Linked DNA regions of Homo sapiens: all the other regions are linked to region 3. The links are contacts of gene promoters, found by promoter capture Hi-C in blood cells and fetal thymus (Javierre and others, 2016). All regions are on one chromosome and are shown on one strand. The core of a region is centred on a gene start or on the middle of the fragment in contact, and the rest is flanking DNA. Distances in the headings are between cores, read along the strand shown.

Region 1 (2,700 bases), core at 93-2,592, 550 kb after region 3:
AGGCTGGATCTTTGCCTTGAGAGCTCCGTGTCACCAGGATGGAAGGGGGTGCCTCTCGGAGGAGCCTGTGTCCACCTCCAGTCTCGGCTTTCCCCGGGGGGCCAAGCGCACTGGGCTGCCGTCTGTCCCCAGCTCCCGTGGCCACACAGCTATCTGGAGGCTTTGCAGGGAGTCGTGGGTTCTCGCACCTGCTCAGCCCTGTGTCGGCTTCCTGTGTGCTCACCTAAAGCTGTGGTTTTGCTGTGTTCACTTCGATTTTTCTGGTCTGTGGAGAAACTGTGAATTGGAGAAATGGAGCTCTGTGGCTTCCCACCCAAACCTTCTCAGTCCAGCTGGAGGCTGGAGGGAGACACAGGCCCCACCCAGCAGACTGAGGGGCAGAGGCACAGGTGGGAGGGCAGCGGAGATCAGCGTGGACAGGAGCGATGCACTTTGTAGATGCTGTGGCTTTGTGTTGCGTTTTGTGTCTCTGTTGCACAGATCTGTTTTTTCACACTGATCCGTATTCCCCTGGGTGTGCACACAGGGCGGGTGTGGGGCATTTAGGCCATGCTGTGCTCTACTTCATTGAGTAAAATCGAGTGAGAGGTTCCGGGCAGCAGGATCGACGCCCAGTCCAGCCGGCAGAGGGAACACACGGGTCCTTCATTGTCCTGTAAGGGTGTTGAAGATGCTCCCTGGCGGCCCCCAAGCAGACTAGATGGGAGGAGGCGCCGCTCAGCCCCTCACCCTGCATCACTGAAGAGCGGCGCCTCTGCAGCAAGCAGGGCTTCAGGAGGTGCCCGCTGGCCACAGCCAGGTTTTCCCTAAGAAGATGTTATTTTGTTGGGTTTTGTTCCCCCTCCATCTCGATTCTCGTACCCAACTAAAAAAAAAAAAATAAAGAAAAAATGTGCTGCGTTCTGAAAAATAACTCCTTAGCTTGGTCTGATTGTTTTCAGACCTTAAAATATAAACTTGTTTCACAAGCTTTAATCCATGTGGATTTTTTTTTTCTTAGAGAACCACAAAACATAAAAGGAGCAAGTCGGACTGAATACCTGTTTCCATAGTGCCCACAGGGTATTCCTCACATTTTCTCCATAGAAGATGCTTTTTCCCAAGGCTAGAACGACTTCCACCATGATGAATTTGCTTTTTAGGTCTTAATTATTTCACTTCTTTTTAGAAACTTAGGAAGAAGTGGATAATCCTGAGGTCACACAATCTGTCCTCCCAGAAATGAACAAAAGTCATCACCTTTTCTGCTTGCTACACAGGCAACGATTCCCCCATCAGCTGCCCGGACCCTTTGGCCTGGCTTGGTGTGCAGGCCTGTCTGTTTGCTTAAAGTCAGTGGGTTCTGGTGCAGGGAGTGAGAAGTGGGGGAAGTGAAAGGGAAAGCATCCGTGAGAAAGCGGCCACGGTTTTCCCTCCTTGTGTGCCCATGGGGCACCAGCTCATGGTCTTTTTCAGTCATCCCAGTTTGTACAGACTTAGCTTCTGAACTCTAAGAATGCCAAAGGGACCGACGAGACTCCCCATCACAGCGAGCTCTGTCCTTACATGTATTTGATGTGCATCAGCGGAGGAGAACACTGGCTTGGCCCTGCTCCGCTGAGTGTCTGTGAAATACCTCTACTTTCCCTCCCATATCCAGAACAAAATGATACTTGACATCCTTCCACAAAAGTCAGCCTAAAGAAGTTATGGTATCATATGTTAAACTAAGCTTTCAAAAACCTTAGTGAAATAGCAAGTGACTGCTTTCAAGCAGCAGTCGACATGTAAATGAAGGTGTTCTTAGAATTCGCATTTTGCCAGCTCAGCGCACCTCCACAACGAATGAAATGCTCCGTATGATTTGCACAAATGACATAGACCTCCCCAAAAGTTAACTGGCTCTCCTTCCTCACACAGTTCATCATAACCCAACCCCCCACCCCCGGGTCATGAAAATCACAGAACTTATAAACACATTGAACCCTAGATCTCAGGCTTCCTGACCTACCGCCAGTGGCCCCTTGCTGGCCACCCTATAGGGTCCTCCTTCCCTGGCAGCCCCCCATGTGGGAGAAATACCTGATTCTCCCAATCTGCAGTGGGAGAGCTTTGCTGAATTCCATCCCAAAGTCAAACATGGGCAAGAGGTGAGGATTTCACTTTTACCCTCAAGTCCGATTTGTCTGTGATTTTAAACTAACTGTGTATGTATTGATGTTTGGAAGATTGTTTGAATTTTAAAGTGATAATAGTACTTAATGTTATCCAGTATTGTTCATTAAATGGTGTTATCCTAAAGCTGCACTTGGGATTTTTACCTAACGCTTTACTGATTCTCTCAAGCACATGGCAAAGTTTGATTTGCACTCCGTTCATTTCTGACACGTTTTGCTGCCTCCTACCTTTCTAAGCGTCATGCAAATTCGAGAATGGAGAAGGACGCTGCCGGTCCCTGAGCGGTGTGGAGAGGGCGGAAGGTGGACTCCAGCGCAGCTTGAGGGGCTGAGGACGGAGGCTGCAGCATCTGTGTCGTTCTACTGAGCACGCTTCTCTGCCTCGCTCCTGACTCAGCACTTTGTTCACTGGCTCAGCAGTTATGTTTACACATCATTTTTATGTTCCTGCTTTGTAATTCATGTTTGAGATGGGTGGCCACTGTACAGATATTTATTACGCTTTCCAGACTTTCTGAATAGATTTTTTTGAATAAACATGGTT
Region 2 (2,700 bases), core at 29-2,528, 510 kb after region 3:
ATATTCCTATTCCATCAAAGATGCTGTATTCACTTTATAAGAATTGAGAGAGGGAATTATTTGTTTTTATTTTATTCTTAGGACTTTGTTGCTTAACATAATTAGGTACATATTCTAGATAGTGCTGATTTGTATAAATGGAAGGATTCCTGGCATTATATTGGTGGGGGAATATGTAAATATATACAGTTGGCCCTTGAACAACACGGGGTTGAATTGTGAGGATCCACGTATGCAGATTTTTTTCAGTAAATATACTGGAAAATTTTTTAGAGATTTGTTACAATTTGAAGAAACTCACAGACAAACCACATAGCCTAGAAATATTTAAAAAGTTAAGAAAATGGTATGTCAGGATGCATAAAATATACATAGATGCTAGTCTATTTTATCATTTTCTACTATAAAATATACACAGATTTATTATACAAACTTAAAATGTATCAAAATTTATGTGCTCAAGCATAGACCATACGTGGCGCCATTTGCAGTTGAGATAAATGTAAACAAACATAGATTCAGCATTAAATCATAGCTGCAGCAAATTAACTGTGGCGAATATGGCACTACCGTAAGAATTTCACAGCAGCCTTCCATTGCTGCTGTAGTAAGCTCAGGTGTTGGAAGGATCCGCTTTAAACGTCCTGTGACACTCCTCGTCTCCATGTGAGGAGTCTGTCTCTCCAGGGAATTGGGAATAGCAGTAAAAAATGGTATCTTGTGGTTCTCACATATTTTTCACCGTGTTTAGTGCAGTTCCATAAACCTTGAATAACACCATAGAACCACTAAGAAGTCCCGTGCCACTAGGGACGCTGTGAGTGCTCCCAAGAGGCAGAGAAAAGTCATCACATGACCAAAAAAAACAAAAGTTGAATTGCATGATACGTACCCCAGGTTGAGGTCTGCAGCTGTGAGTGCCCCCCTTTTCAGACAGACGATCCATCTTGTGAACAGATGGCATAAACTCACTATATCCATAAATACAGTCCCATACACTAAATGTATTTTCTCTTCCTTATGATTTGCTTAGTAACATTTTCTTTCCTCTAGATCGTATTATTACAGAATTATATACTGTATTCTTAATACAGTATATAATTGTATAATTATTCTTAATACAGTATATAATTATACAAATACAAAATATGTGTTAATGGACCGTTTATGTTACTGGTAAAGCTTTAAGTCAACAGTGGGACATTAGTTAGGTTTTGGCGAAGTCAAAAGTTATATGTGCATTTTCAACTTCTTGAGGGGTCGGTACCTCTAACCCCCATGTTGTTCAAGGGTCAACTGTCTACACATATCATAGCTAATTCACTACAGAAATGTTAGCTTGTGTCACTAGTATCTCCCCTTCTCATAAGCTTAATACACATACCTTGAGAGAGCTCTTGGCCATCTCTACTAATGACTGAAGTTTTTATTTATTATAGATGTCATAATAGGCATAAAACTACATTACATCATTCGAGTGCCAATTTTGCCACCTTGACCCTCTTTTGCAAAACACCAACGTCAGTACACATATGAAGAGGAAACTGCCCGAGAACTGAAGTTCCTGAGACCAGGAGCTGCAGGCGTTAGATAGAATATGGTGACGAGAGTTACGAGGATGACGAGAGTAAATACTTCATACTCAGTACGTGCCAAGCACTGCTATAAGCGCTCTGTATGTGTGAAGTCATTTAATCCTCACAGCATCCCACGGTGTAATTATTTTCATTATCCCCATGAGGGAACAGAAACTCAGAACGGTTCAACACATATGCGAGAAGTCGCAGCCGGTCAGTGAGAGAGCAGGTTCCCGTCCAAGCAGTCAGACCCCGAGTGCACACTCTCGACCCCTGTCCAGCAGACTCACTCGTCATAAGGCGGGGAGCCCCAGTGTTCTGTTTCAGCCAGATGCTCTATGCATCTCAGAGTACCCAAACCATGAAAGAATGAGGCAGTATTCAGAGCAGATGGGGCTGGGCAGTAAGGCTGGGCTTCAGAATAGCTGGAAAGCTCAAGTCATGGGACCTGCAAGAAAAATCCATTGTTTGATAAATAGCCAAAGTCCCTAGGCTGTAAGGGGAAGGTGTGCCAGGTGCAAGTGGAGCTCTATGTAAAATCGCACCTGAGTCTCCTGGTCTTATGAGTCTGGGTGTACCCCAGTGAAAGGTCCTGCTGCCACCAAGTGGGCCATGGTTCAGCTGTGTAAGTGCTGAGCGGCAGCCGGACCGCTTCCTCTAACTTCACCTCCAAAGGCACAGTGCACCTGGTTCCTCCAGCACTCAGCTGCGAGGCCCCTAGCCAGGGTCCCGGCCCCCGGCCCCCGGCAGCTGCTCCAGCTTCCTTCCCCACAGCATTCAGGATGGTCTGCGTTCATGTAGACCTCTGTTTTCAGTCTGTGCTCCGAGGTCACTGGCAGCACTAGCCCCGGCTCCTGTGGATCACAGCCTGCTCGTCCTCAGGGCAGCACCTGGGCTTGTTGCAGAAGCTACATCTTGAAAGAGCCCATGGCCTAACGCTGGGCGCTGCAGTGAGCCGCACGGGGCCGGAGAAGGAGAGGACTCAGGGGAGCTTGTGTTCAAGTTCACTCCAGAGGATCCAGTGCCAGGTCCTGCAAAGAATTCTAAGCCATTGAGAAAGCAGTGGATGGTTTCACCATGGGGCTTCCCAGTATCACGTGGGGTGTTAGCTGCACCCGTCTTG
Region 3 (2,755 bases), core at 232-2,731:
TAAAAGAAAAGAGAAAAAGAACTGTGGCGTGTGCCTATATTCTTGAGAGGAAGGAATGAAAGGAGCCGGAAAGAAACAAATAAGTCGTTAGGGAAAAGGAGAACGAGAATAACACCATGACCTGTAGGAGGTCCTGGAGGAGCTAAGGAGGTGTCAGCCATTTTCCCCCCCCATCTGTTCCACAGGTGGCATTTTATTGAGCACCGACTGTCCCCCATCCACTGTGCTCAGTGGCAGGGACTCAAGGTGGGCAAAATAGACATGGGCCTTGCCTTGCAGTCTAGTGGGAAAAACAGATTAATCATTTAAATATTTTGTTTCAAAGAATGGTAATGCATGCAGGCAAGGTCCAGGCCTGTGGGAGAGCAGGCTACAGGCCCACCTGCTATTTAGACAGTTACCAGTGGCAGAGGACCCCGAGGAAGGCGCAGTTTACTCGACGTGTAAATAGGAATAGCCTTAACTAGCTGTGGGTGTGCGGACAGGGAAGGGAAAGAGGAGAAACATCTGCAGAGACAATGCCGGGTGCACAGCCCGTGGGCGGGGCCGCGGGTGCAGGGGAACCCGTGCCTCTGAAGGGCTGGGAAGGCCAGGGTGTTGGGGGAGGAGACCGGGCCTATGGGACTGGCCCTGGCTACGCCAAGGTGGGGCTGACATGAAGTCCCCTTCATCCGTGGGGGGTGGCCCGTCCCTCTGGGAGGGGATCCCTCACAAGATGACTTCCCAGGTCGCGCCCCGAGGCGGCTCTTTGCTGCCCCCACAGAGATGACTTCCGGGCTCCTGGGGCCCGCGGGGAGGGGCAGGTGAGGCCCAGGGCTGGGTGAGGGCCAGGCCCTTCTAGGAATGTTGGTGCTCCCAGCACCTAGCACCGGGAGACTGGAGAGGTTTCCAGGAGAGTGACCCGAGTAGGTCCCCTCCTAATTCTGGAGCCGTCCCTCGGGCTGCGCAGTGGAGCGCCGAGGTGGCGGGAGGCTGCGGGGAGCCTGGGCGGCCAAGCACCATCTGCAGTCAGGAGCTCCCGGGCAGCTTGCAGGGCGCAGTTTTTGAAAGCGGGTGCTGCGTGCGGACCGCGGGCCTGCAGGGTGCGCGGGTCGGGCTGGGGGCTGTCCCTGGAGAGTAGAGTGGCCCTGGGGCCCGCACGCCCACTTGCTGGCGGGGGATGGCGCAGACACGGGCGGTCCCCCCGAGGGCGGTCCTCACGGGTGGTCTAGGTTAGCTCGGACCCGGGAGTGTGGGAGTGGCGCAGAGCTGCGGGAAAAGGCGCGGGGCGCCTGCGTGGCGAAGGAACACAGCCGCCTGACACGCCCTCAAGGCCCGCGGAGCTGCTCCTGCCTCGGCCTCTCTGAGCCAACCACGGGGCGGGGCGTGAACGCCGGGCGGGGACGTGCCGTTCTGGGGGGCGTGTCCACCGGCGGGGGCGTGCCGTCCTGGGGGCGTGGCTCTCTGCTCCGGTGCAGGCCCGCAGGGCGCCCTGGGCTGGGAGCAACGCGACTGACCGTGGTCGTGGGCGGACGGCGGCTGCAGCGTGGAGGAGCTGGGGTCGCTGTGGGTCGCGAAGCAGAGCCCGGGACGTGCGCGCTTGGTGCACGATCCTGAAGGGGAGCTCCGAGGGGCCCGGGTCGCCAGGGCTGCTGCGGCCATTCCCGGAGCCCGGCGCGGGGCCCGCGAGATACTGGTTTAGGCCGTCCCAGGGCTCCGGGCGCACCCGGTGGCCGCTGCTGCAGCGGAGGGAGCGCGGCGGCGCGGGGGCTCGGAGACAGCGTTTCTCCCGGAAGTCTTCCTCGGGCAGCAGGTGGGAAGTGGGAGCCGGAGCGGCAGCTGGCAGCGTTCTCTCCGCAGGTCGGCACCATGCGCCCTGCAGCCCTGCGCGGGGCCCTGCTGGGCTGCCTCTGCCTGGCGTTGCTTTGCCTGGGCGGTGCGGACAAGCGCCTGCGGTGAGTTACCTTGCGAGGTAAAGTGGGGAGCGTGGGAGCCGGGCCCTAGAGCTTTCCACTGGGTGAAGGCTGCAGCTCTCGGGGTCGGCGGTCGCTGAGCCCCGGGCAGCGACTGGGGAGGGCGGGGGGAGCCGAGCACGCTCCGGGGTGACCCCTGGGAAGAAGTTGGGAAGTTGAGCACGCCTCGGGGTGACCCCTGGAGGGAGTGGGTTGGGGGGAGCCCTTAGCACACTCAGAAGTGACCTCTGGGAAGGAGTGCGATGAGGGGAGTCCTGAGCACGCCCCGGGGTGACCTCTGGGAAGGAGTGGGTTGGGGGGAGCCCTGGGCACGCTCTGGGGTGACTCCTGGGAAGAAGTGGGTTGGGGAGCCCTGAACACTCCCCGGGGTGACCCCTGGGAAGGAGTAGGGGGTAGGGTGAGGTCCTGGGTACACTCCAGCCTGGAGCTGGACTGGAAACTCATCCCACAGACTGCTCCCAGCCTAGGACGCGACAAAGCAGGTGGCAGGCTTGGTGGAGCACTGTTCCTGCACTCGAAGTTCTCTCAGAGGTCGAAGAAGTCGTGGAGGGGACACTTAATTTCAGCTTTCACTGCGGCGGGTGGTGAAACGACGGTTCTTCCTCTTTTTGAGTATCCTGTTCTGAATCCCTTCCCTTGGCTCGCCCTCCGCGTGTGTGTGTGTGTGCGCGTGTGTGTGTGCGCGTGTGTGTGTGTGCGTGTGCGTTTGTGTGTGCGTGTGTGTGTGCGTGCGTGTGCGTGTGCGTGCGTGCGTGTGTGTGCGTGTGTGTCGTGTGTGCGCGTCTGTGCGTGTGTGTCGTGTG
Region 4 (2,771 bases), core at 15-2,514, 580 kb after region 3:
TGTCCATCAAATGGGTTTAATGATAATGCTCTTTTTGGGTTATCAAGAAAATTAAATTGGATAAGGGATGTGAAAATACTTGGAAACTCCAAATCACTCTACATTTTATTATATCCTTCTGTTTTTGCAAGCGAAAACATTTTTTAAAGTTTACAGTTATTTAGAAAGTTAAAATCTTGTGTGAGCTATAAAGCTCTATGATCTTGAACTGAAATTATTTTTGAAAGGTGAACACGTGATGTGAAACATTCAGCTGATCTGTTTACCCTGCCATTCTTGGCAGCAGTGGGAATTCATGCTAGGTCTGCCAAACAGTGATTGAGGGCCAGTTTGAGGTCAGGTATCAACACTCTGACCAGAAGCTTTTTATTTTAGTGTTTCCTGCCCTAGAAAGAGAAACATTTCTTCCTAGAACATATCAGAGGAAAGTACTTCCTATTTGTTCTTCCAAGCTTTACGCTTACAGCCCGGCTTTTCTTTAGCAAAGGAGAATAAAATATAAAGCAGAAAACGTCATTGTATCTCTTTTCTTCTAATCAGAAACAAGGTTCCATCCCTTCCTCTTTTTACTTCATCAGTTGCCTGTTGTACACACTTTGCATCCTCTGCATTCTTTTTGTAGCCTACTGAAGGGGTCTAGAGGTTTTCTCAACTAAAGCTGTTCTAGAATTTTAAAAATTAATAACATAATTGAGTTTTTCAGCATAAATTTAAAATCATATTTTACACAGATTATAAATTTATTTCAATCATGTTTTATGAATCAAGTTGAACATTCTTACTAAACTGAATTTCCAAGTGTATTTATTTATTTAGAGACAGGGTATTACTCTGTCACCCAGGCTGGAGTGCAATGGCATGATCATAGCTCACTGTAACCTCCCACTCCTGGGCTTGAGTGAGCCTCCTGCCTCAGCCTCCCGAGTAGCTAGGGCTACAGGTGTGCACAATCATACCTGGCTAGTTTTTTGTTTTTTCTTAGAGATGGGACCTTGCTATGTTGCCCAGGCTGTCCTTGAACTCCCAGTGTCAAGCAGTCCTCCCATCTTGGCCTCCCAAAGCTCTGGGATTATAGGCATGAACCACTGTGCCCAGCCCATCCACATGTATTTTAAATGATTTTTTTTTATTTCACTGAAAGAGGTTATGAAACAGGCTCTCACTTAGGACACCTAAGAACCAAAGATAATGTGTGGACTTTGATTGGGCCTGGTGTGAAAAAACAGCTGGAAAAGGCATTACTGGGATAACGGAACACTTAAATAGGATCTCAGTATTAAATAATATTAAATAATTATTGACAATTGTTAATTGTGATAATAATACCGTTAAACCTAGGTGATGAGTTTGAATGATGGATTTGAAGCCCAGCTCTTGCTTTCCAGCTTTGTGAGCTTGGGCAAATTGTTTAGCTTTTGTGCTTTCGTAGCTGTTTAATGACATAGTATAGCGCTTGACAAAAGTAAGTGTTCAATTTATTTTTTATTGTAACTAATATTGCATGTTTAATCCCCAGGATTTCTGGTACTCTCTTTTTGGTACTTTCTTCCATCTCTTGTTACTTACCTTGATTAGGATCTTGAATCAAGAACTTCCTGGGTCTCTATTCCAATACCTTTTTCTTAAGAAACTATTCCCTCACCTTTCTTATTGACAGAATAGAAAAAGAGAGCTCTTCTTTGCTTTTCCTCTTCTCTCATTCTCCTTCCTGGATTTCTGGTTAAGAAGAATAAATTAGAATAAGCAAAACAGTTTTGAGGTAGGACATATATTTTAATGATTAACTCAATCAAGGTCTGTGCAGCTTTATTCTAGCGACTTATTCCTCTTCTCAAGTTTGTATATTACAGTAAAGGTGAATGGATACACACACACACACACACACACACATGTATTTGTATATGTGTGCAGAGGATGTTTTCTTAAGAAGAACCTAGATCATAGAGTGCTTTAAAATCAGTTAATCACTTAGTATGCTTATGAATCTGAAGTTAGTGGGATGTTTGCATTGAATATTCTCAAGTTGATCAGGTATTCTAAATTAATTTTAACTTCTGAGTCTCCAGGAAAGCTTTCAGAATTTATACTTACTACCCAGGTGAGAAGTTGCAGTAAAATAAAAGTGAATCTTTCCCAAACTTGTGGAATATTAGAGTTGGAACAGGCCTTAGAAATTCCAGTGCTTCATTTGCCACATGAGAAGGCTGATATCTGAACCAAACAGATAACTTCAGAACCTCTGGATACCAAACTTGTGAAGCTAAAACAGAAATGTCAACTTGGGATTTAAAGGAAAATAGTAATGCATAGAAATGGTTTTGAAAAGAAGGTTTTAGATATTTTTGTGCTCCATGTTTTCCTGCATATGTCTCCCTTTTCTCTGCCAAACTGCTTTTCACACCCGGTCCTTGGACTCTTTGAGCACTTCCCTGCCATATAATTGACTTTCAGAAATTGAATGAAGCTGGAAATGTTGAAGCAGGACTGGCCATAAGAATCTCTTAATATCTGGATAGTCCAGTCACAAAGATCTTTACTGTCATTCAGCTGACTTTTGGCTCGCTAAATATAGCTGAATATCACAAATTCTAATTGTCAAAACCCTCCCTCATTTTAATTTGAACTAGAAAACTAGACAAAATTTGGTAAGAATAAATTTCAGCAAACTGTAGAATTATGATCTAAAATATCTCAAAATTTTATCCCATTTTACTTTGAATAATGTTAGAAATATACTATGCTAGGCTGTCAGTTGGATCCTTTTAGTACTA
Region 5 (2,700 bases), core at 101-2,600, 710 kb after region 3:
AATTGTTTTATGTTTTATGGAAGACCCGCGTGAAGGCCGGGCACGGTGGCTCACGCCTGTAATCCCAGCACTTTGGGAGGCCAAGGCGGGCGGATCACGAGGTCAGGAGATCGAGACCATCCTGGCTAACACGGTGAAACCCTGTCTCTACAAAAAAATACAAAAAATTAGCCAGGCGTCATGGCGGGCGCCTGTAGTCCCAGCTACTCGGGAGGCAGGAGAATGGCATGACCCCGGGAGGCGGAGCTTGCAGTGAGCCGAGATCGTGCCACTGCACTCCAGCCTGGGCGACAGAGCGAGACTCCGTCTCAAAAAAAAAAAAAGAAGACTTGTGTGAAGAAGGCGTCCTGATTGCAACTGGACATCTCAATGGGCATTTGGTAATTAAAGGTCTGCTATAGTCATGGGACTAGACTTAGGAAGGAATCTTAGCATGGAGAGAGAGCAACCTGTCCATAAATATTCACAAAAGGACAATGGTACCATTTTCTAGAAAATACTGGATTTTGATCTAAATAGGTGTCTACAAATATTATTTACTATAATTATGGAATGTATAAATTGTATATAAAAACATGTCTTTATGTCTTTATCAACATAAAAAAGTTAATTTTCTCTAGAATTCTAAGAATGAATAACACATCAATAAAATTTTTTACATGATGATAAATTTAAAGAGTTTTCCAGATGTATATCTTTATATATATGCATATAAAAATGTTATTGAATATTGAAATATCAAAATAAATCTTGCATAGTTGAAAGGACTATACATTTCTAGTTTTACACCAAAGGAAGAATTTATTGTTTAACTATTAAAGCTTTATCCTTAATATTAAGCAGTATATCTCATTGTGAATTTATATTCTTTTTTATTTACAGGCTAATGAAAATTTATAATATCAAATGCAATGTTCTACTACCACATGAGCAAATCGGCCTTCTTGATGGTGCTAAAATATCTCTTTGCAATGTCTAATCCTGGACCCTGGCTTTTGGCTGCTCCTAGGAGAAGGAAACCAGGCCCGTGGTACACACTGATAAGGACAGTGGGCTCCCCCAGGAAAAGCAGATGAGATTTCTCGTATAGATGACAAATGCGTTATCTAACATTATATTTTCATTTCTCTTAGGGAATATTTTTGTATGTCTACTGTGTTTCCATCTTTTTCATCACTTAGCATTAAAATATTCATTCAGTAAAGTGATTGGTGTAACCGGCATTTAAAAATTCTAATTGCATGCAAAGTAATATTTTGCATCATCCACATAGTTTCATTTCAAAGATGTACAAAAAGATAGGCATGATTCCTGCCTTAGAAGAGAATGTGGTCCGGGCGCGGTGGCTCACGCCTGTAATCCCAGCACTTTGGGAGGACGAGGTGGGAGGATCACGAGGTCAGGAGATTGAGACCATCCTGGCTAACACGGTGAAACCCCGTCTCTACTTAAAAAATACAAAAAATTAGCCGGGCATGGTGGCGGGCGCCTGTAGTCCCAGCTACTCGGGAGGCTGACGCAAGAGAATGGCATGAACCCGGGAGGCGGAGCTTGCAGTGAGCGGAGATGGCTCCACTGCACTCCAGCCTGGGCGACAGAGTGAGACTCCGTCAAAAATAAAAAATAAAAAATAAGAATGTGGTGTGACAGTCTCAATTTGCTAGACAGGGTGGTATTTGGGGGGGGCCAGTCTGTCCGATGGTTGAACATGGCTGAAAGTTTCATTTACAAATGTGCAGCGTTCTCTAGAGAGAAGACAAAATGCTGTCGTGACTTTAGAGGCAGAAGTTCCAGTTAACACTTTTGAATCAAAATAAATCTTACATATTAAGCTAGGAAAGGTGGTTTTCTCCAATAGTGTTAGAAATACGAAGCTTTTGAAAGAAATCATCTTTATTATCTCTGTAAAAATCAAAGACTTTAAAGCATTTTTGGTGTGGTTTTTGGTTACCCCTCTGTATTCAAAGAACTGAAATCAGTTTATTTGTCCATAGGTATATACATAGCTATAAAAGTATTTAGTGCTAGCAAGAATGGGATAGATTTTGGTGGACAACTTACGGAATTTCATGAAGGTTTCAAAACAAGGATGAAAAATGTAGTCCTTTTTAAGAATGAAAGCTCAGCTGGATGGTAAAGCTCTAGAAGCTGTCCCATAGTAAAGACTAAAGCAGGTGTATCTGAGCCTGGAAAGAAAGGTCCAAGGGGAGGTGTAAGTAGCCTGAAATACCTGGGGTTTGCATGTGGATTTTATACTTATTTCATGTTTTATTGACTATTCTGCTGTGGACTGCACTGTGTCCTTCTCATCCCCAAAATTTCTATGTCGAAGACCTAATCTTCAATGTGGTGGTATTTGGAGGTCACCTTTGGGCAGTGACAAGGTTCAATGAGATCATGAGGGAGGCCTTACAGGGGACTGATGTTCTCTGCTGTCTGCCAGCCAGGAGGAGGCCCTCGCCAGAACTCAACCATGCTGACATCCTGATCTTGGACTTCCAGCCTCCAGAGCTGTGAGAAAATAAATTTCTGTTGTTTAAGCCATCCAGCATGTGAAATTGTGTTACAGTAGCCTGAGCTAAGGCAAGAAATATTCCAATAAATATATTTCGTATTTATTCTAGGTAGCATCAGAGACCAGAAATAAGGCCAATGGGAATAATTTACAAAGAAGTTAAAGTTCAGTTCAATACGAGGGAA
Region 6 (2,700 bases), core at 115-2,614, 620 kb after region 3:
CCTGTGAATAAAAGCCTCCAAGGCAGATACAGAGTCCCAAGTGGTGTGTGGTCAGCATGTTCAGGGCCAGTAAGGAGGCCAGAGGGGCTCTAGCAGCGGGGCAGAGAAGAGGGACAATTGTAGAAGAAAAGGTGAAGCAGGAAGGGGGATTCTCAATTGTGAGGGTTCTCATAGGCCATAGAAAGGATTTTAGCTTTACTCTGAGTGTGATAGGAAGCCTTTGGGTTTAGAGCAGAGTGGTGGTGTGACCGACTTGGATTTTAAAGGATCACTCTGGCAGCTCTGTGGAGAACAAACTGTAGAGGCAATGTTAGAAGCCCAGAGACTGGGCTGGAGACAAGTACAGTTGTCCTGGCAAGAGATGACTGTGGCTCAAATCAGTGATAGAAGTGGTTTAAAGAGCAAAAAAGCCTGTTTAAAAAACAAAAAAGTGGTCAGATTCTGTAAATGGTCTGAGTGTACAGCCAGCAGGCCACACTGTTGACGGATTGGATGTGTGAGAGTGGGAGGAGGCAAGGATGCCTCATGGCATTCGACCTGAGCATCTGGAGAGGTGGAGTTGCCATTAAGTGACTGTGGGAGGAGCAGGTTCAGGGAGGAAAATCATTTCAGTGTGGACGTGAAGTCTGAGATCCAGGTAGCATCCAAGTGGAGATGTGAGGAAAGCAGTTGGACGTAACACTGTAGAGTTTGTGGGAGGAAATAGGAGAGAGATGAGATCGTCAAGATGAGGTCCAAGGTTTGACCTCTGGTTTTCTCTAGGTGTGTAGAAGTTTAGAGGATGAGCAGAAGCCGGCAAAGACAGCTGAGAGGCGTGGCGAGAGAAGGAGGAGGAGAACCAAGAGAGAAGGATGCCCCAGAAAGTGAGGGAAGAGAGTGCTTTAGGAAGGGGATGGGACCCAGTACTGTTGATGGGTCTCAGAAGTTAAGAGCAGATTACCCGTGGAGGTTATCAGTTGTCACTTCCACGAGAGCAGTCTTGGTGGCTGGATGGGGTCAGAGGCCTGATTGAAGTCAGGGGAGAATAGAAAGAAGATGGAGATGGTATGGCCATCTCAGTGATTTTTCCTGTGGAGCAAAGAAGTGGGTGGTAGTTGAAGGATGCAGTGGGGTCGGGGAACATGTCATTTTCCCAAGGAAAATACTGGATGTTTCTGTGCATTGGGAATGGTCCAGGAAAGGGGAAAATTATGGTGCAGGCAAGAGGGAATTGTTGCTAGGGGGCTATTGAGGAGTGACTTGGAAAGCAGGTTTCTCTAGGGAGGAGGAAGGGGCAGGAAGTGGCAGTGAGGAGGGCAGACACCTAGCTCACTGCCTGTCCAAGTGGTACAGGATTCACAGGGGAGAGCCCTGGTCCTGGAGACTAAATTTCAAACCTAGCCGGAAGGTGAGAGGATCATCAGAGAAGAGGGTGAGGACATAGGGAGGTTTGCTGTTGGTTTTTGGAGATGGGTAGGAGATGAGATGGGATTAAAGGCGCACAGACCTGAATGGGGTGAGGGATGACCTGAGAGTGTTGCACGTCTTGTGCAGCAAGACGTAACCAGGATGGCGGGCACATTGGAATTGGGTCTTGACAGGGATGGTTCTAGGCCAGTTGAGGAGTTGGGCGAGGCAGTGAAGGTCATAGGGGAGCATCCTGACATCCAGGCTGCATCATCCTCCTATGCAGGCGCTTTGAGCCCCGGGGAGAGGCACGGTAGCCAGAGTTCTGGGACCTCTCCTTCGAGATGCCTGGGAAGAAGTCAAGGAGGGAGAGATATTGAGCCAGATCTTAAGAGAGTTGATCATATTCCTCCCCTGATCACATCCTTCATTGACTTCCTGCAGCACTTGAGTAAAATCCAGATCCCTCCCTTGGCCTCTCAGCCCTGCACTGCTTGTCGGCCCGCCTCCCCACCCTCTCCCCAGTGCTTGCCTTGCCCTGCCCTCTTTCTCCTCCTCAGTTGGAGCCATTTTCTTCTGCCTGGGAGACCTGGCAGTTGCATTTCTTTTTTCAGGAATGCCCCTTCCTGGCTCTTTTCAGAGTTGGATTGGTCACTTCCTGATGTCTTCACTTGGTCACCTCTTTAGAGAGGCTCTTCCTGACCCAGTTACTCTGCCCCTATTTATGTCCTTAGTAGAACCTGCCTCATTAGTTTATTGCCCATTTTCCCCCATCTGAATGTAAGTACGCTAGGTGCTGTCTTATTCCTTTCTGTGTATGTAGAACCTACCAAGTACCTGGTGTCTAATAGCTGTTCATAACTACTTGTTGAACAAACAGATGAGTGAGTTGTTTGGATTTGGGTAACTACCAAGGAGAGCTGAGGGCATTGGCATAAGGTAATTGTTGGGAGTTAGATGACAAGAACATAATGCCGGAACATTCTACAGAGTTCTCTTGTGGGAGTCCTACTAACCCCTGCTGACAATTTGCGAGATGTCTTAGTCCATTCAGCCTGCTGTAATAAAATACCTTAGACTTTGTGATTTATAAACAACAGAAATTTATTTCTTACGGGTTTTGAGGCCGGAAGTCAGAGATCAAGGTGCACTCATGGGTTCTTGGTGAGGCCTCCCCCTTCCTGGTGTCACACTGTTGCCTCTGGTTATATCTTGACATGGCAGAGAGCAGAGAGCTTTAGTCTCTTTCTCGTCTTATTAGGGCGTGGATCCCATTCATGAGGACTCCATCCCCATGACCTGATCATCTCCTGA
Region 7 (2,700 bases), core at 127-2,626, 690 kb after region 3:
AAGCTAAGGAATTTAGTCAGTGATGGGCAGAGAAAGCATCTGCCTTCAAACGCATTGTTGAAATTGACTTTTGAGGAATTGGACAGATTTTATATAGTTATGTTGACAATAAATATAATTAGAATGAATTTTCAAGTTAGAAAATGACTCACCTGGCTGGGCGCGGTGGCTCACGCCTGTAATCCCAGCACTTTGGGAAGCCGAGTTGAGTGGATCACCTGAGTTAGGAGTTCGAGACCAGCCTGTCCAACATAGTGAAACCCTGTCTCTACTAAAAATACAAAATTAGCCAGGCATGGTGACACGTGCCTGTAATCCCAGCTACTTGGGAGGCTGAGGCAGAAGAATCGCTTGAACCTAGGAGGCAGAGGTTGCAGTGAGCCGAGATCATGCCACTGCACTCCAGCCTGGGTGACAAGAGCAAAAAAATTCCGTTTCCAAAAAAAAAAGAAAATGACTCACCTTGTGTTTAAACACCTTATTTAATGCTGGAGGAATGTAAGGAGTATTAGAAGGTAATGGATTTGAAGGGCCTTATAAGGAAACAGGAAGAGAGAAGAATTTTTCCATGAGGAAATAATTTTCATTTTACAGTTAGAAGAATTAACACCTAGACAAATGAAGTGACTTACTCAGGACAAGGCTCCTACCCCTGGGGCTCAGAAGTACTTGGGAATTACTTCCAAGCCATATAAACAATATTGAGCTTTGGGTTTATTTTATTAGTTACTTAATTATACTTATGACAGGAATATAGTTTAGGCTTTTAGTAAATGTATGCTGTGTTGAATTAGTTGAACTTTAAAAATGGATTACTTTCTCAATAATGTATTTTATTAATCTTTCTCTCAGTTTCCATTTTAACCAGAGACTTACAATGTAATTACCTTTTTAAAGGATATGGTGGTGTTTTATTGCACCTTGAATTGCTAAATTTAAATTTGTTTTCACTTTTTCATGCTTTTGATTTTTTCTTCATTTAAAGGATCTAGAGCCACATTTACCCAAATTAGTAGGCATTAATGTCAAGTGGACTGTTGAAACAGCAGAGTAAAAAAAGTATAATTCAGAGGATTCACATGCAGAGTGGAAACACCCAACCTCCCTGTCCTCCTCAAGCCCCTAACATGTAGGCTCTGCTACCACGGGTTTCAAAACCAGGCCTACAGATGTGTTTCAGGGGTAACAATATTTTGGAGGAAAAACTCAAAGCCCTTTTTTTTTTTTTTTTTCCTGTTCAAGTAGCTATGAACATGTAAGCCACTGATTTTTCTCATCCGGGGAACACCGATGATGACATTTGTTGAGTTGTAGATCTCTAGGTTAGACCAAAGGATGAGATCAGTGCAGAACAAGATACTTAAAGCGTTGACCACAGGCCTAGTCAATCTCTCCGAGGACGGCCAAGGGCAGGTTTATCAGGCTCTACCGTCCTTCCACATGAAACTTGGCATGACCAGTACTTTGAAGCCTGAACGAAAGACGACAGATCCAGCCAGGCTTGGTCTATAGAATCGTGCCTTTCCCCACCTCCATCCACCAGGAAAGAGGAGCCTGATTAAGATCCCCTGTTTTAAGTCTGAAGAGGGCAGATTCCAATCTTCCCCATTTTCAAAATCACAGACTTGCCTTCGCTGCAGAATTAGGGCTCTACAAATTCGCTCTCTCAGAGTTGATAACTGCCAAGATAAAATGGTTAACTTAAAGGATTTTAATATAATAAATGTTAATTGTTTAGTAGGAACCAAGACACAAGTGAAAGTGCTAGCATTTGGCAGACTTTGATGGATTTCAAAATCCTATCATTTATTGGTTTTAGCAAACATTTTCCATTAATGACCGTACTTGAAGACATTTATATCAAATAGATAATTAATAAAAGTATATACATAGCAGCAATGCTAAAGTGATTTTAACTAAATAATTAGTTCTGGCGCCAGAAATAATTTAACTTTTTAAAAAACTAATAGCAAATCTATTTGTTTTGCTACTTTGCATACATTAGGTGGACAATAAATAATGGTTTGTTGTGGGCTGTGCTTTAAAACACCAAAATAACTAATTATTTGATTAAAGTGGTGCTTTGTCTCAGGAAACCTAGTATACAATTTCCTGAGTCCTTGAACTCAATGGAGGAGACCATAGCATGTACAATTACACTGTTTCCTAAACAGGGTGACCAGAGTCCGATCAAGACAACCTATCTCAGTTTGTGAGCATCATTATTTTTTAATACTCTCAGTAGAGTGTGTTTTGCAATTCACAGTGACATTAAATCTCCATTGGTTATTTGCACAAATGAGTGCATGTGATGTATGCATATGTATGTATACATGTGCATATGTGTCTATATATCTTTTAAAATTATACCAAAAACAAAGAACATGGTCAACTGTCTTCATTCCATCATGAGTGCATTACTGAAGCATTTATAGTATCTCTCCTATATAGAAGTGAACTACTCAGTAACCTCAGCTATTCAAGACTTCACAGATAACAAGAAATAAGGAAAATGATCTTAAGAATCAAGATAGATGTCACAGAGCCCATGAACTAAATAGTCATAATTGTTGAAATCTTGATAATAATAGAATAGCAAGCGCTTATATAGGATTTACTGTGGGCAGCCTGCCTCCAAATGCTTTATACAGATCAGATAATTTAGTCTTCACAAAAACCATGTAAGCTAGGCATTATTAG

What was found. The method cuts DNA at HindIII sites, captures the fragments that hold promoters and counts their contacts. A CHiCAGO score of 5 or more calls a contact.
Region 1: a fragment that was not itself captured here is called in contact with the fragment with the promoter of RNASET2 in region 3 in 6 of 17 cell types (non-activated CD4 T cells, total CD8 T cells, naive CD8 T cells and 3 more); the score reaches 10.1 in non-activated CD4 T cells.
Region 2: a contact is called between a fragment that was not itself captured here and the fragment with the promoter of RNASET2 in region 3, in 2 of 17 cell types (fetal thymus and non-activated CD4 T cells). The highest score is 7.4, in fetal thymus.
Region 4: a contact is called between a fragment that was not itself captured here and the fragment with the promoter of RNASET2 in region 3, in 8 of 17 cell types (monocytes, total B cells, naive CD8 T cells and 5 more). The highest score is 9.5, in monocytes.
Region 5: a contact is called between a fragment that was not itself captured here and the fragment with the promoter of RNASET2 in region 3, in 1 of 17 cell types (non-activated CD4 T cells). The highest score is 5.9, in non-activated CD4 T cells.
Region 6: a contact is called between a fragment that was not itself captured here and the fragment with the promoter of RNASET2 in region 3, in 1 of 17 cell types (activated CD4 T cells). The highest score is 6.2, in activated CD4 T cells.
Region 7: a fragment that was not itself captured here is called in contact with the fragment with the promoter of RNASET2 in region 3 in 1 of 17 cell types (M0 macrophages); the score reaches 6.3 in M0 macrophages.

What each region holds. Positions count from the first base shown.
Region 1 is chr6:166,409,399-166,412,098 of GRCh38, reverse strand. RPS6KA2 (ribosomal protein S6 kinase A2) reads left to right here. Exons shown (of 21, transcript NM_021135.6): 21 at 1-2,700. Among named protein-coding and RNA genes, the nearest start is that of MPC1-DT, 28 kb to the right of the region's middle. The HindIII fragment of the contact is 742 bases long and covers 972-1,713 here.
Region 2 is chr6:166,441,492-166,444,191 of GRCh38, reverse strand. All of the region lies in intron 14 of RPS6KA2 (ribosomal protein S6 kinase A2), which reads left to right. Among named protein-coding and RNA genes, the nearest start is that of RPS6KA2-IT1, 23 kb to the left of the region's middle. The HindIII fragment of the contact is 188 bases long and covers 1,185-1,372 here.
Region 3 is chr6:166,955,276-166,958,030 of GRCh38, reverse strand. RNASET2 (ribonuclease T2) reads left to right here and starts at 1,481. Exons shown (of 9, transcript NM_003730.6): 1 at 1,481-1,934. The coding sequence starts at 1,849. RefSeq lists silencers at 496-545, 816-915, 956-1,715. The HindIII fragment of the contact is 12,502 bases long and covers 1-2,755 here.
Region 4 is chr6:166,377,538-166,380,308 of GRCh38, reverse strand. All of the region lies in intron 1 of MPC1 (mitochondrial pyruvate carrier 1), which reads left to right. Among named protein-coding and RNA genes, the nearest start is that of MPC1, 4.0 kb to the left of the region's middle. The HindIII fragment of the contact is 1,619 bases long and covers 455-2,073 here.
Region 5 is chr6:166,246,321-166,249,020 of GRCh38, reverse strand. The region is part of intron 2 of LOC101929297 (a long non-coding RNA gene); the gene reads right to left. Among named protein-coding and RNA genes, the nearest start is that of PRR18, 61 kb to the left of the region's middle. The HindIII fragment of the contact is 1,053 bases long and covers 824-1,876 here.
Region 6 is chr6:166,337,879-166,340,578 of GRCh38, reverse strand. The region is part of intron 1 of SFT2D1 (SFT2 domain containing 1); the gene reads left to right. Among named protein-coding and RNA genes, the nearest start is that of SFT2D1, 3.3 kb to the left of the region's middle. The HindIII fragment of the contact is 5,592 bases long and covers 1-2,700 here.
Region 7 is chr6:166,264,363-166,267,062 of GRCh38, reverse strand. No RefSeq gene overlaps it. Among named protein-coding and RNA genes, the nearest start is that of PRR18, 43 kb to the left of the region's middle. The HindIII fragment of the contact is 6,772 bases long and covers 1-2,700 here.